Regions from separate parts of the Homo sapiens genome. Here all the other regions are linked to region 1. The links are contacts of gene promoters, found by promoter capture Hi-C in human tissues and cell types (Jung and others, 2019). All regions are on one chromosome and are shown on one strand. Each heading gives the region's core, a stretch centred on a gene start or on the middle of the fragment in contact. The rest is flanking DNA. Distances are from core to core; before and after follow the strand shown.

Region 1 (2,895 bases), core at 87-2,586:
TATCTCTGTGTCCTCCTCCTCTCGTCTCTGTCTCTCTGCCTCTCTCATCTGTATCTCTCTCTGTCTCTGTCATCTCCCTGTCTCTGTCTCTCTCTATCTCTGTGTCCTCCTCTCATTTGTCTCTCTGCCTCTCTCATCTGTATCTCTGTCACTTTCTCTGTCATCTCCCTGTCTCTCTATCCCTCTATCTCTGTGTCCTCCTCTCATCTGTCTCTCTGCCTCTCTCATCTGTAGCTCTCTCTGTCTCTGTCATCTCCCTGTCTCTCTATCCCTCTATCTCTGTGTCCTCCTCTCATCTGTCTCTCTGACTCTCTCATCTTTGTCTCTGTCTCTGTCTCTGTCATCTCCCTGTCTATCTCCGTGTCCTCCTCCTCTCATCTCTGCCTTTCTCATCTCTGTGTCTCTCTCTGTGTTTCTGTCTCTGTCATGCCCCTTTCTCTGTCTGTCATCTCCCTGTCTCTATCTATCTCTGTGTCCTCCTCCTCTCATCTCTGTCTCTCTCATCTGTATCTCTCTCTGTCTCTGTCGTCTCCCTGTCTCTCTATCTCTTTGTCCTCTTCCTCTTGTCTTTCTCTCTGCCTCTCTCATCTGTGTCTCTCTCTGTCTCTGTCTCTGTCATCTCCCTGTCTCTGTCTCTCTCTCTCTGTGTCCTCCTCCTCTCGTCTCTTTCTCTCTGCCTCTTTCATCTGTGTCTCTGTGTCTCTCTGTCATCTCCCTGTCTATCTCTGTGTCCTCCTCCTCTCGTCTCTGTCTCTCTGCCTCTTTCATCTGTGTCTCTCTGTCTCTGTCTCTGTCATCTCCCTGTCTCTGTATCCCTCTATCTCTGTGTCCTCCTCTTCTTGTCTCTGTCTCTCTGCCTCTCTCATCTGTGTCTCTCTCTGTGTCTCTGTCTCTGTCATCTCCCTGTCTCTCTGTGTCTTCCTTCTGTCTTCTCTGTCTCTCTGCCTCTCTCCCCCATCTCTGCCTCTGTCTCCCTCCATGTCCCTGAGCCCCTGCCTGCCTGCCTGGGGTTTCCCCCGCTTCAGGGCAGCGGAAGGAAGGCCAGCAGGACATGCTGTGCTGGGAAAAGCCAGCAGGTCTCCACTTCTCCCTTTCACAGCCTCCTCCCCCGCCCCCACCCTCGGGGCCTTCCGAGCAGGGGTGGCCTGTGCTCCCCAGGGGGCTGGGGCTCCTCCACACCCTAATTCATCTCCCTAGCGGCCCCACGAGCCCCACCAGTGAGTCAGACCTGAAGGAAGTCGGGGAGGGGGCGGGCCTTGACCCTGGGCTGGGCTTTCCCCTGGGCAGGTCCCAAGTCCTCACCTCCCCTCTCAAGTCTCCCACGACGTTCCCACCCACTCCTGAGAGCAGAGCTGGCCGCAGCCATGACCCCGCAGCTTCTCCTGGCCCTTGTCCTCTGGGCCAGCTGCCCGCCCTGCAGTGGAAGGAAAGGTATGTGGGGCCCCTGGGGGACTGGGGGGCCCAGGCAGACGGACATGACACGAGGACTGGCCTCGGATCATGTCTGGGGTGGGAAATCACATCCTCCCGTGCCCAATGGTGGGATGGGGTTACCCTCCCATTGTACAGATGGAGGAACTGAGGCACAGAGAGGCAGAGTGCCACATTGGGGGTGGAAGGATGTCACCTTGTGGGTGATAGGGACTGGCAGTCACAGCTCAGAGGTATCCATAGAGCTACACAGACATAGCTACACAGACATGCGAATTTGAGTCACACTCATTCCTTTGGTTTCTTTTTGGTTTTGTTTTTTGAGACAGAGTCTCACTCTGTCGCCCAGGCTGGAGTACAGTGGCACCATCTCAGCTCACTGAAACCTCCATCTCCTGGGTTCAAGCGAGATTCTCCTCCCTCAGCCTCCCGAGTAGTTGGGATTACAGGTGCCCGCCACCATGCCCGGCTACTTTTTATATTTTTAGTAGAGATAGGGTTTTACCATGTTGGCCAGGGTGGTCTTGAACTCCTGACCTCAGGTGATCCACCCACCTCGGGCTCCCAAAGTGCTGGGATGACAGATGTGAGCCACCGCGCCCGGCCGACATTCATTCATTTTGCACTAGAGAACATCTCCATGTCCTTGAAGACAAAATGGTTACAGCAGGGCATGGTGGCTCATGCCTGTAATTCCAGCACTTTGGGAGGCCAGGGCGTGAGGATCGTGAGGCCAGGAATTCGAGACCAGCCTGGGCAACATAGTGAAACCGGACCCCACCAATCTGTACAAAAAATTAAAAAATTAGCTAGATGTGGTGGCACGTGCCTGTAGTCCCAGCTACTTGGGAGGCTGAGGTGGGAGGATAATTTGAGCCCAGGAATTGGAGGCTGCAGTGAGCTATGATTGTGCCACTGCATTCCAGCCTAGGTGACAGAGTGGGATACCTTGTCTCAAAATAATAATAATAATAATAATTTATAGGCTGGGTTTGGTGGCTCACGCCTGTAATTCCAGCACTTTGGGAGGCCAAGGCAGGTGGATCACCTGAGGTCAGGAGTTTGAGACCAGCCTGGCCAACATGGTGAAACTCCCTCTCTACTAAAAATACAAAAATTAGCCAAGCGTGGCAGTACATGCCTGTAATCCCAGCTACTCGGGAGGCTAAGAATCGCTTGAACCCGGGAGGCGGGGGTGGCAGTGAGCCGAGATCTCGCCACTGCACTCCAGCCTAGGCGACAGAGGGAGACTCCCTCTTTAAAAAAAAAAAACAATTACAAAAGAGAGAACACGGTAAAATCTCTCTCTCTTACCCGAGTTCCTCTCTGTAGATGCTTAAACCTCAGCTTCCCTATCTGGAAAATGGGCTAGTAGTCCTCACCTAGATGGATTGCAGTGGGGATAAAAGATGACAGATGACTTTTGTCCATGTACCTATTTATTCCGAAAGCCTTTATTAGGCA
Region 2 (2,925 bases), core at 182-2,681, 260 kb before region 1:
GCTCACCTGCCCAGCTCCTCCCCCATCTCATAATGGTCCTCCACGTCCTCCTGCCTGAACGTGGACATGGCGGCCGGTCCGCCTTCCAGCAGCTTCCACTCCAGGGAAAGTGCAGTCACCGCAGCCTGGAGATAGGACCTCAGGAGTCCCCTAATGGCAACCCTGGAGAAGACAGGGAAAGACAGAAGTGAGGAACTGAGACACCACCCTTTTCTCCTAGATTAATGGACAGACCTGTCCAGCAAACACAAGCCTCCCACCTCTCCACTCTGAAGCTCCAAACTCGACAAAAAGAGGTGCTGTGTTTACTGGGCTGGGTCCTGTCATGTCACCTCTTAGAGCCCCATAACCACTCAAAAGTTTGGTAACAGCCCCACTGGGCCACCTTCACCCCGCAAAACTCTCTCCAGACACATAATTCTGATTTCCCCGACGCTGCCTGCGTCTTTTTTTGCCTCTCACTCCTAGACTTCTCTCAACCTGCTCAGCCAAAATCCCCCACCATTCCTGCACGTTCTCCTCAACCTCAAATCCCAGGGCTACCTTACTCCCTGGCCAATGTCTTAACGAAGTTCTCAAGTCTACTTCTTTTGTTGTTGGTGTTGTTGTTTTTTGAGAAGGAGTCTCGCTCTGTCGCCCTGGCTGGAGTGCAGTGGTGCAATCATGGCTCACTGCAGCCTGGAACTCCAAGGCTCAAGCGATCGTCCCAGGCCTCCCAAAGTGCTGCCATTCCGATCAAAATTCCCAAGTTACTACCTTAACCCCTCCTGGTCCTTGCCCTCGGCAGGTCTCTTAAGACCCTCATCGATGGAACACCCCCGCCCACCCCCAACCATCTCTGACTCCCTCCAATTCTGAATTTTCCAAGAACCGGACGACGCCTTCCACGCTCCTGAAAGCCCACTTTGCCTCCCTCCCCCGCTGACCTCCACTGTCCTCGCAAGATTAACCTCTTCCTCCACGCTCCATGTATCAAAGTCCCCCAACCGCCGTCTCCCCTACCCCCCAAAACGGGCCGCCAAAAAGGGCCCCATCTGAGTCTCCTCCACCGTCCTCTGCCCCTTCTCGCCCGCAATCTCCGCACAAGCCCCTAGGCAGACCCCAGTGGCTCCCTTTGCAGAACCTCCCCCCGCCCCCAAGGCCTTGCCCATCCCTAAGGCTCCGCTCCAGCATCCCTGGGGCCGCTACGCCCCTCGCACGCCCGGCCGAGCCCTTTCCCCGGCCCGGTCACCCAGATGGGTCCCCAAACCTACCAGCTCCTCAGATTCTCTCCCTCCCTCGTCCTCCGCGGGCCCCCGAAGCGCCGCTCTGGCCCCACCCAGCCCTCCAGCCTCGGCCCGAGCCCGCTCTTTACCCTCCGCAGCCCGGAGAATACGGCCGGCGCCGCCGCGCTGGCCACCGCCGCCGCCTCCAGAAGCCCCGCGCCCCTGCCGCCGCGACGCGCCTGCGCCGACGTCACCGCACCCGCCAGTGCCCACCCCCGGGAAACGAACCCCGCCGCCTATTGGCCGGTGCGCCCGCCGCTCGTGCCGCACCTCGACGTCCCGCCCCCAGCTGCCTTTTCGGCACCCACACCCGGATGCAGCCTCACCACTGGCTGAACACTCGCCATCCCTGATTTCATTGGCTGCAGTCGACGCTGGTCAAGCGGACGGAAAAAAGGCCGACTTCCGGTCCCTTCATCGCCCCGCCCGCCTCTCCTCTGACCCAGGTGCTGAAGCTGCGAGAAGTGAGGCTGAAGCCCTGCATCCCGCTTCCTGCCTTCCTGGAGCACCGGTTGGGCGAATGGATGGCTCACCTGTGGCCGAGCGCGCCTGGCAGCTCCTGGAGTGGACCCTGGGACTGCTTTAGTCCCTATGTGGCAGTTTCCTCCACTGAAAACTGTTACCCACATTCTAAATACTTAAAATGCAAATGAGGTCAATCTGGGGTTGTCATACACAGGGTCCCTCTTCGTCTCAAAATAGAGGGTAACAGCAAGCATTTTATTGAGACATAGTATGTGCCAACTGACAACACTGGGAGGTATCAGGTTTGTTTTTTTTTTAATTTTATTTTTTGAGACAGGGTCTCACTCTGTCACCCAGGCAGGAGTGCAGCGGCGGTATCCAGCTCACTGCAACCTCCACCTCCCGGGTTCAAACGATTCTCGTGCCTCAGCCTCCCAAGTAGCTGGGATTACAGGTGCCCATCACCACGCCCGGCTAATTTTTGTATTTTTAGTAGAGACGGGGTTTCACCATGTTGCCCAGGCTGGTCTCGAACTCCTAAGCTCAGGTGATCCGGCACCTCAGCTTTCCAAAGTGCTGAGATTACAGGCGTGAGCCATTGCGCCCGGCCTAAATTCATTTTTTATTATTATTTTGAGACGGAGTCTCGCTCTGTCACCCAGGCTGGAGTACACTGGCACAATCTCGGCTCACTGCAAGCTCCACCTCCCAGGTTCACGCCATTCTCCTGCCTCAGCCTCCCGAATAGCTGGGACTACAGGCGCCCGTCACCACGCCCAGCTAATTTTTTGTATTTATTAGTAGAGACAGGGTTTCACCGTGTTAGCCAGGATGGTCTCGATCTCCTGACCTCCTGATCCGCCCGCCTCGGCCTCCCAAAGTGCAGGAATTACAGGCATGAGCCACCTTGCCCAGCCTTTTTTTTTTTTTTTTTTTTTTTTTGAGACAGTCTCCTTCTATCGTCCAGGCTGGAACGCAGTGGTGAGATCTGGGCTCACTGCAATCTCTGCCTCCTGGGTTCAAGCGATTCTCCTGCCTCAGCCTCCCGAGTAGCTGGGACTACAGGTGCACGCCACCACTCCCAGCTGATTTTTGTATTTTTAGTAGACGCAGGGTTTCACCATGTTGGCCAGGATGGTCTCAATATCTGTGATCCGCCGGCCTCGGCCTCTCAAAGTGCTGCGATTACAGACGT
Region 3 (2,942 bases), core at 123-2,622, 290 kb after region 1:
CCCTGGGTTCCCTGTCACCGTCCCTGATCGCCCAAGCTGAGCCACAGGAGGCTGGGGAGCCCCTGGGCTGTGTGACCCCAGGGGAGCTGTTGCTCCTCCCTGGGAGTCTGGATCTCACTCTGATGAGCTCAGATGGGCAGAGCACCCAGCCTGGGCCATGGTGCATCAGAAACGGAGTGCAGGGTGGGGGAACGGCCGAGGGACTGAGTGGGGGGGCATTGCAGGGAGACAGGCTGGGTTGAAAGCCACCTTCGGCCACTCACCCCCCATATTTATGCCTCAGTTTCCCCATCCACCACAAGATGTCCTAGTGTCTGATGAGAGCACACAGACAAATATGGAGGACTCCCCAAATGGCTGGAAGTCCCTGCCCGGGGAGCTCCTTCTCCCAGGTCCATGTGTAGAGTCCCCCCACGCCCCCAGCTGGGCCAGCCACTCACCCTGAGCCTGTGGTTGGGCAGCCTCGGCAGCAGGCGCTCCTGTGGGGTCAGCGGCCGGCCGGGCTCTCGCCGAGCTATGTGCGTTGGCCACCAGGTTCCGGGCAGAGCTGAAGCCAGGCAGGGACCCAAAGAAGCTGCCCAGGGTCTGCATGGGGGCGGGGGGTGTGCAGGATGAGCAGGCCAAGCCTCGGCAGGAACGGGTCAGAGGAAGCATCGATTGATCAGCCCAATGCCGCCCCGGCCCCTTGCTCCTGGGTGACCTCAGGAAAGTGTTTCAGCCACTCAGCCTCAATTTCCACACCTGGGCAATGGGCAGACTCAGCCTGCCTCCCATGCACAGAGGAAAAGATCGTCTACCCGATCTCCAAAGACCTTTTCCTTCCAGGATCCCCACTGCACAGATGGGGAAACTGAGGCTCAGAGAGGGGCGGAGCTGAGGCCGGCCCAAGGTCACTTGCTGGGGAAGGTGTCGAGGTCTGCGTGGGTCCCCCGCCTCCAGCTTGGGTCAGAAAGGAAGGGATTGGCATCATGGCTCCCAGACCGCCCCCACCAGCCCACCAGGGAAGCACCTCTCCAGATTCGAGACCCCAGGACTGTGGAGGTCACCTTCCCCGGCTCTGGGGCATCTCCAGGCCCCAGCAAGAATCTGCCCCATTTCCCCTCTTTACCTTGCCCTTCGGTTTGGGGGGATCCCGTCTCCCTTCGTCTGGAGCAGACATAGTGAGAACGTGAGAAGCTGGAAGGGGGCAGAGAAGGTGCGTGAATGGGGGTTCCCTAGCCTCCCATCCCACACCCACTCCCCACTGAAAGCCTGAGCAGCCCGACACCCACCTGCAGGCCTGGCCTCACCCTGGTGTCACCGAAGCAGACGCGGCCCCGCTCACCTGGACTGCGCGGGGTCCCCTGGAGGACGGACCGGCCCGGCTGGCAGCTGGCTCTACCCTCAGCTCCCTGGCCTTATAGGGTCCGGGGCAGGCGCAGGCCCAGCCAGCAGCGGCAGGCGGCCAATGGGCCCGGGGGAGGTGGCCTGGACGGTCACATGGCTACCTGCCCAGCCCAGCATGGGCCCAGGCCCAGCACCTTTCCCCTGTTTCCTGCCCACAGCTTGCATCAGGCTGAGTGGCTCACAGGCCAGATGGGCTCCCCTCCCGGGCCCCTGAGCCTCCAGTTCCATCCACGAGGTGGGTGTAGTTCAAATCTCTGCTGCACCAGGATGCCTTGGCCAGTTACCATCTTTTTGCTTCAGGTTTCTCTCTCGTACTCCGCACCACGTCCCGTAACATCCAGCTTCTTCTCTGCTCTCATCTCCCCCAGCTTCCTCCTTCGCTTGCTTCATCCCAGCCACACAGGCCTCCTCGCTATGCCTCCAGCGCACCTGGCACGGTCCTGCCTTAGGGCCTCTGCACGGGCTGTGCCCTCTGCCTGGAACACCTTCCCTGCAGGTTCCCACAGGGCACCCTCTTCCGCCCACAGAACAGTGCCTGGCATACATTTGGCGCTTAATACACGTTTGGCTCAATGGAGCAACACAGAGAGTGGTTGTGAGCCTCTGTGAGATGAGGTCATGCACTGAACAAATGCTGCCTTCGCGTTACCCAGGCAGAAGCGGGGTCTCGGGGTCTCGGCAAGGAGCAGGGGGTGTCCTCAGTGTGGAGGGGAGCCCATCACTCTCCGGAAGGGACTTGGGCCAAAACGCAGACCAAGATGGAGCACCAGCCAAGCTGGGGGCACCCTAGGAGTGGAAACCCAGCCTGGGGGGCTTGGGCCAACCCAGGGAGGCTCCCTGGAGGAGGCGTCCTGTTCCAGAAGTGGTGAGGATGGGATTCAAACCCAGACCCTCCTGTTCCAGGAAGTGGTGAGGACGGGATTCAAACCCAGACCCAGGACCTTCGTGCTGAGCCCAGCCTATGTGCTGGGCTGTCTGTGGGTGGGTGGGCAGAGGAATGGCCGTAACGCCCACCCTGGGCTGTGTCCCCCTCCTACCTGCCCCTGAGACAGGGTTCCTAGCCCTGTGTTATTGGGGGTGAGAGGGCAGACCCCATGGGTGGCTCTGGGCACTGGGCTGGGAGGAGGGAGGGTACAGCCACAGGATCTGATGATTCCCAGGCCGTCTGTCTCCTTGGAGCCGACACTGTGTTTGCCAAACAGTGGGGGAACAGAAGGGGGGGTGTCCCCCAACCTCTTCTACCAGCCAGTGCTTCCCAAGGGTGGCTGGGAGAGCTCTGGGTGCCCCTCCCCTTCCCAAAGGGCAGCCACAGCCCAGTGTGTGGAGAGAAAAAATTAAAAAGTGATCATAAACATCCCAGCCAGGATCTACCCCTCCTCTGCCCAGCACCCTCCATGGCTCCCACCTTCTCCGGGGTGGGAGCCCAGGGTCAAAGCCCAAGTCCCCTTCCTGCAGCCCGGTAGGCCCTGCATAACCTGCCTCGTCTGCTCCCCACCTTCCTCTCCTTCTTCTCTTCACTCTGCTCCAGCCACACGGGCCTTTTCACTGTTCCCATA
Region 4 (2,884 bases), core at 1-2,500, 310 kb after region 1:
AATACCTTCTGTCCCTGCTCCATGGGAGGGGCAGCCCTCACCTGCTGGTCCTGCTCCCACACACTGGATCTGGGGATCTGAGCCGCCTCTTCTTCAGACATCGTGCTGCAAACAGGGTCACCCTGCGGGGCAGGATTGAGTAAGGGGAGCACCTGCCCAGGCATCAGATCCTGTCAAATTGGGCTCTGTGACTTGAGCAACTCTCAAACCTCTTGGGGCCTCAGTTTCTTCATCTGCATAATGGGGCATTCTGTGGAGCTCAGACAATGCATGTCCAGAGCTCTGTACACAGAGGGTGTCCAATAATGAGCCTCTGGCAAGGTAGGGTTGCCGGAGTGACTCGAAGCATGGTCTCTGAGGTGAGAAAGACCTGGGTTCAAATGCTACCATTAATTGCGGTGTTATTTTTATTATTTTTTTAAAGACAGAATCTCTCTCGCCCAGGCTGGAGAGCAGTGGCGCCATCCCAGCTCACTGCAATTTCCGCCTCCCAGGTTCAAGTGATTCTCCTGCTTCAGCCTCCCAGTTAGCTGGGATTACCCACGTGCCACCATGCTCGGCTAATTTTTGTATTTTTAGTAGAAACCGGGTTTCGCCATGTTGCCCAGGCTGGTCTCAAACTCCTGGGCTCAAGTGATCTGCCCACCTCGGCCTCCCAAAGTGCTGGGATTACAGGCATGAGACACTGCACCTGGCCAGCTGTGTGATTTTTGGCAAGCACCTTCACCTCTCTGGGCTGCTTCCTGTTTTGTAAGATGTGGGAGGTCCCTGCTACCCCTGCGGCCCCTGCCTGGGCCCAGAACTGCCCAAGCACCCTAGACGGCTGGAGGTGGTAGCTGCTGGGTCCCAGTCCACTCACAGCTCATTTGACAGACAGGGCAACTGAGGTACGCAGCAGGTCCATGCTGGTCCCAAGGTCACGCAGCCAGCTAGAGTTACAGGGGGGGAGCTCGACCTCGGGCCTCAGACCTGCCGCCTGCGATCCCTCCGGTTGCCACCCCGCGTCCTCTGAGGCCTGGTCCTCGCCCAACTGGGTCCTGAGCTGGGGCCAACCGGGCCAAGGGTCCCAGCCACCTGCTCTGGCCGGTCATACCCGTCCCACGCCGCCGGACCTTCGCCCAACCACCCTATCTGGAGCTCCTCTCCTAAGCCCGGGGGGGCGCTCCCGGACGCCGCCCTCAGGGCACTCACCTGGGCGCGAGCGGCTTCAGACACCAGCTGTCTCCGCCGACCCCAGGCTCGAGTCTCCACACCCCCGCCGGTCCCGCCCGCCCTTCTTATAGCTGCTCGCGCAGTGGGGGCCTCCGGAACTGACCAATGGGGAGAGGCCGTGCGGGGGCGTGCCCAGGGGGCGTGGCTCCAGGCTTCCCTCGCCCTCTCCTTGAGCTGGCCCAGTGCCCTACGGTTGCCATAGTAATTCGGGAGCGCTAGATTCAAAAGATTGAGCTATTATACGTTCCCGGACCAAGTTTGGCCACCTGTCATCCTCACTGCTGTTGCCATAGAGACAGTCCATGCGATCACAGCCCCCATAGCCCTGCTGAGTGACCTTGGCCAACTCGCTGATGACTTTTCTTATTAATTATTATTATTTATCGATTTTTGAGACTGGGTCTTGCTCGGTTGCCCAGGGCTAGAGTGCAGTGGTGTGATCATAGCTCACTGCAGCCTTGCCCTCCCAGGCTGAGGTGATCCTCCCGCCTCAGTCTCCTAAGTAGCTGGGACCACAGGCACACACCACCACCCCCAGCTAACTTTTTAAACTTTTTGTAGAGACGAGATGTCCCTGTGTTGACCAGGCTTGTCTTCAACCCCTGAGCCCCAAGTGATCCTTCCACCTCAGCCTTCCAAATTGCTGGGATTACAGGTGTGAGCCATTGCACCCAGCCTCTTTTTATTTCTTAATCTGCCCCTTAACTAAGCCAGAAGCCAGGCCTTCCCTTTCCCTAGGATCCCCATTTCACAGATGAGCAAGCTGAGGCTCAGAGATCATAAAACACTTGCCCCGCATACCACAGCAAGTGAGGGATCCTATTCCTTTTTTTTCTTTTTTTTTTTTTGAGACAGAGTCTGACTCTGTCGCCCAGGCTGGAGTGCAGTGGCGCGATCTTGACACACTGCAACCTCCGCCCCCTGGGTTCAAGTGATTCTCCTGCCTCGGCCTCCGGAGTAGCTGGGATTACAGGCGCCTGCCACCACACCTAGCTAATTTTTGTATTTTTAGTAGAGACGGGGTGTCACCATATTCGTCAGGCTGGTCTTGGACTCCTGACCTCGTGATTTGCCTGCCTTGGCCTCCCAAAGTACTAGGATTACAGGCATGAGCCACCGTGCCCGGCCAGGGATCCTATTCAAACCCAGCCCTGCTGGACCTCAGAACCCTGCCTTTTCATTGCCTTGCCTGGAATGACCACAGATGTAGGCATGGTCTTTTTATTTTTATTTTTATTTTTGAGACACAGTTTCACTCTGTCGCCCAGCCTGGAGTGCAGTGGCGTGATCTTGGCTCACTGCAACCTCCGCCTCCCAGGTTCAAGTGATTCTCCTGCCTGACCCTCCCAAGTAGCTGGTATTACAGGCACGTGCCACTGTGCCTGGCTAATTTTTGTATTTTTAGTAGAGACAGGGTTTTGCCATGTTGGCCAGTCTGGTCTCGAACTCCTGACCTCCGGTGATCTGCCTGCCTCAGCCTCCCAAAGTGTTTGGATTACAGGCATGAGCCACGGCGCCAGGCTGCATGGTCATTTTTTAGGGAGCTGGGAAAACTGGACATGCCCCCAAGCCCCAGGGTCTTCCAAATCCGATTGCAGCCCCCACATGGCCAATGCTGTATCAGCAGGTGGGCCCGGGACCCTGCTCATCCCTTCAGCCCCATCCTGCCCCT

What was found. The method cuts DNA at HindIII sites, captures the fragments that hold promoters and counts their contacts. A contact is called where the count stands out against the background at its distance.
Region 2: a contact is called between the fragment with the promoter of DAPK3 here and the fragment with the promoter of EBI3 in region 1, in 3 of the 25 tissues and cell types used here (dorsolateral prefrontal cortex, psoas muscle and small bowel).
Region 3: the fragment with the promoter of PLIN4 here is called in contact with the fragment with the promoter of EBI3 in region 1 in 2 of the 25 tissues and cell types used here (heart right ventricle and pancreas).
Region 4: a contact is called between the fragment with the promoter of PLIN5 here and the fragment with the promoter of EBI3 in region 1, in 1 of the 25 tissues and cell types used here (dorsolateral prefrontal cortex).

Annotation. Positions count from the first base shown.
Region 1 is chr19:4,228,187-4,231,081 of GRCh38, forward strand. It overlaps EBI3 (Epstein-Barr virus induced 3), which reads left to right and starts at 1,337. Exons shown (of 5, transcript NM_005755.3): 1 at 1,337-1,431. The coding sequence starts at 1,365. RefSeq lists enhancers at 1,557-1,646, 2,610-2,895. The HindIII fragment of the contact is 27,598 bases long and covers 1-2,895 here.
Region 2 is chr19:3,969,668-3,972,592 of GRCh38, forward strand. DAPK3 (death associated protein kinase 3) reads right to left here and starts at 1,432. Exons shown (of 9, transcript NM_001348.3): 1 at 1,254-1,432; 2 at 7-162. The coding sequence starts at 68. RefSeq lists enhancers at 1-483, 484-1,115 and silencers at 4-298, 1,287-1,416. The HindIII fragment of the contact is 13,824 bases long and covers 1-2,925 here.
Region 3 is chr19:4,517,114-4,520,055 of GRCh38, forward strand. It overlaps PLIN4 (perilipin 4), which reads right to left and starts at 1,373. Exons shown (of 8, transcript NM_001367868.2): 1 at 1,272-1,373; 2 at 1,109-1,176; 3 at 441-585. The coding sequence starts at 1,159. The HindIII fragment of the contact is 33,356 bases long and covers 1-2,942 here.
Region 4 is chr19:4,533,974-4,536,857 of GRCh38, forward strand. It overlaps PLIN5 (perilipin 5), which reads right to left and starts at 1,251. Exons shown (of 8, transcript NM_001013706.3): 1 at 1,192-1,251; 2 at 42-122. The coding sequence starts at 101. It overlaps LRG1 (leucine rich alpha-2-glycoprotein 1), which reads right to left. Exons shown (of 2, transcript NM_052972.3): 2 at 2,429-2,884. RefSeq lists an enhancer at 402-957. The HindIII fragment of the contact is 58,476 bases long and covers 1-2,884 here.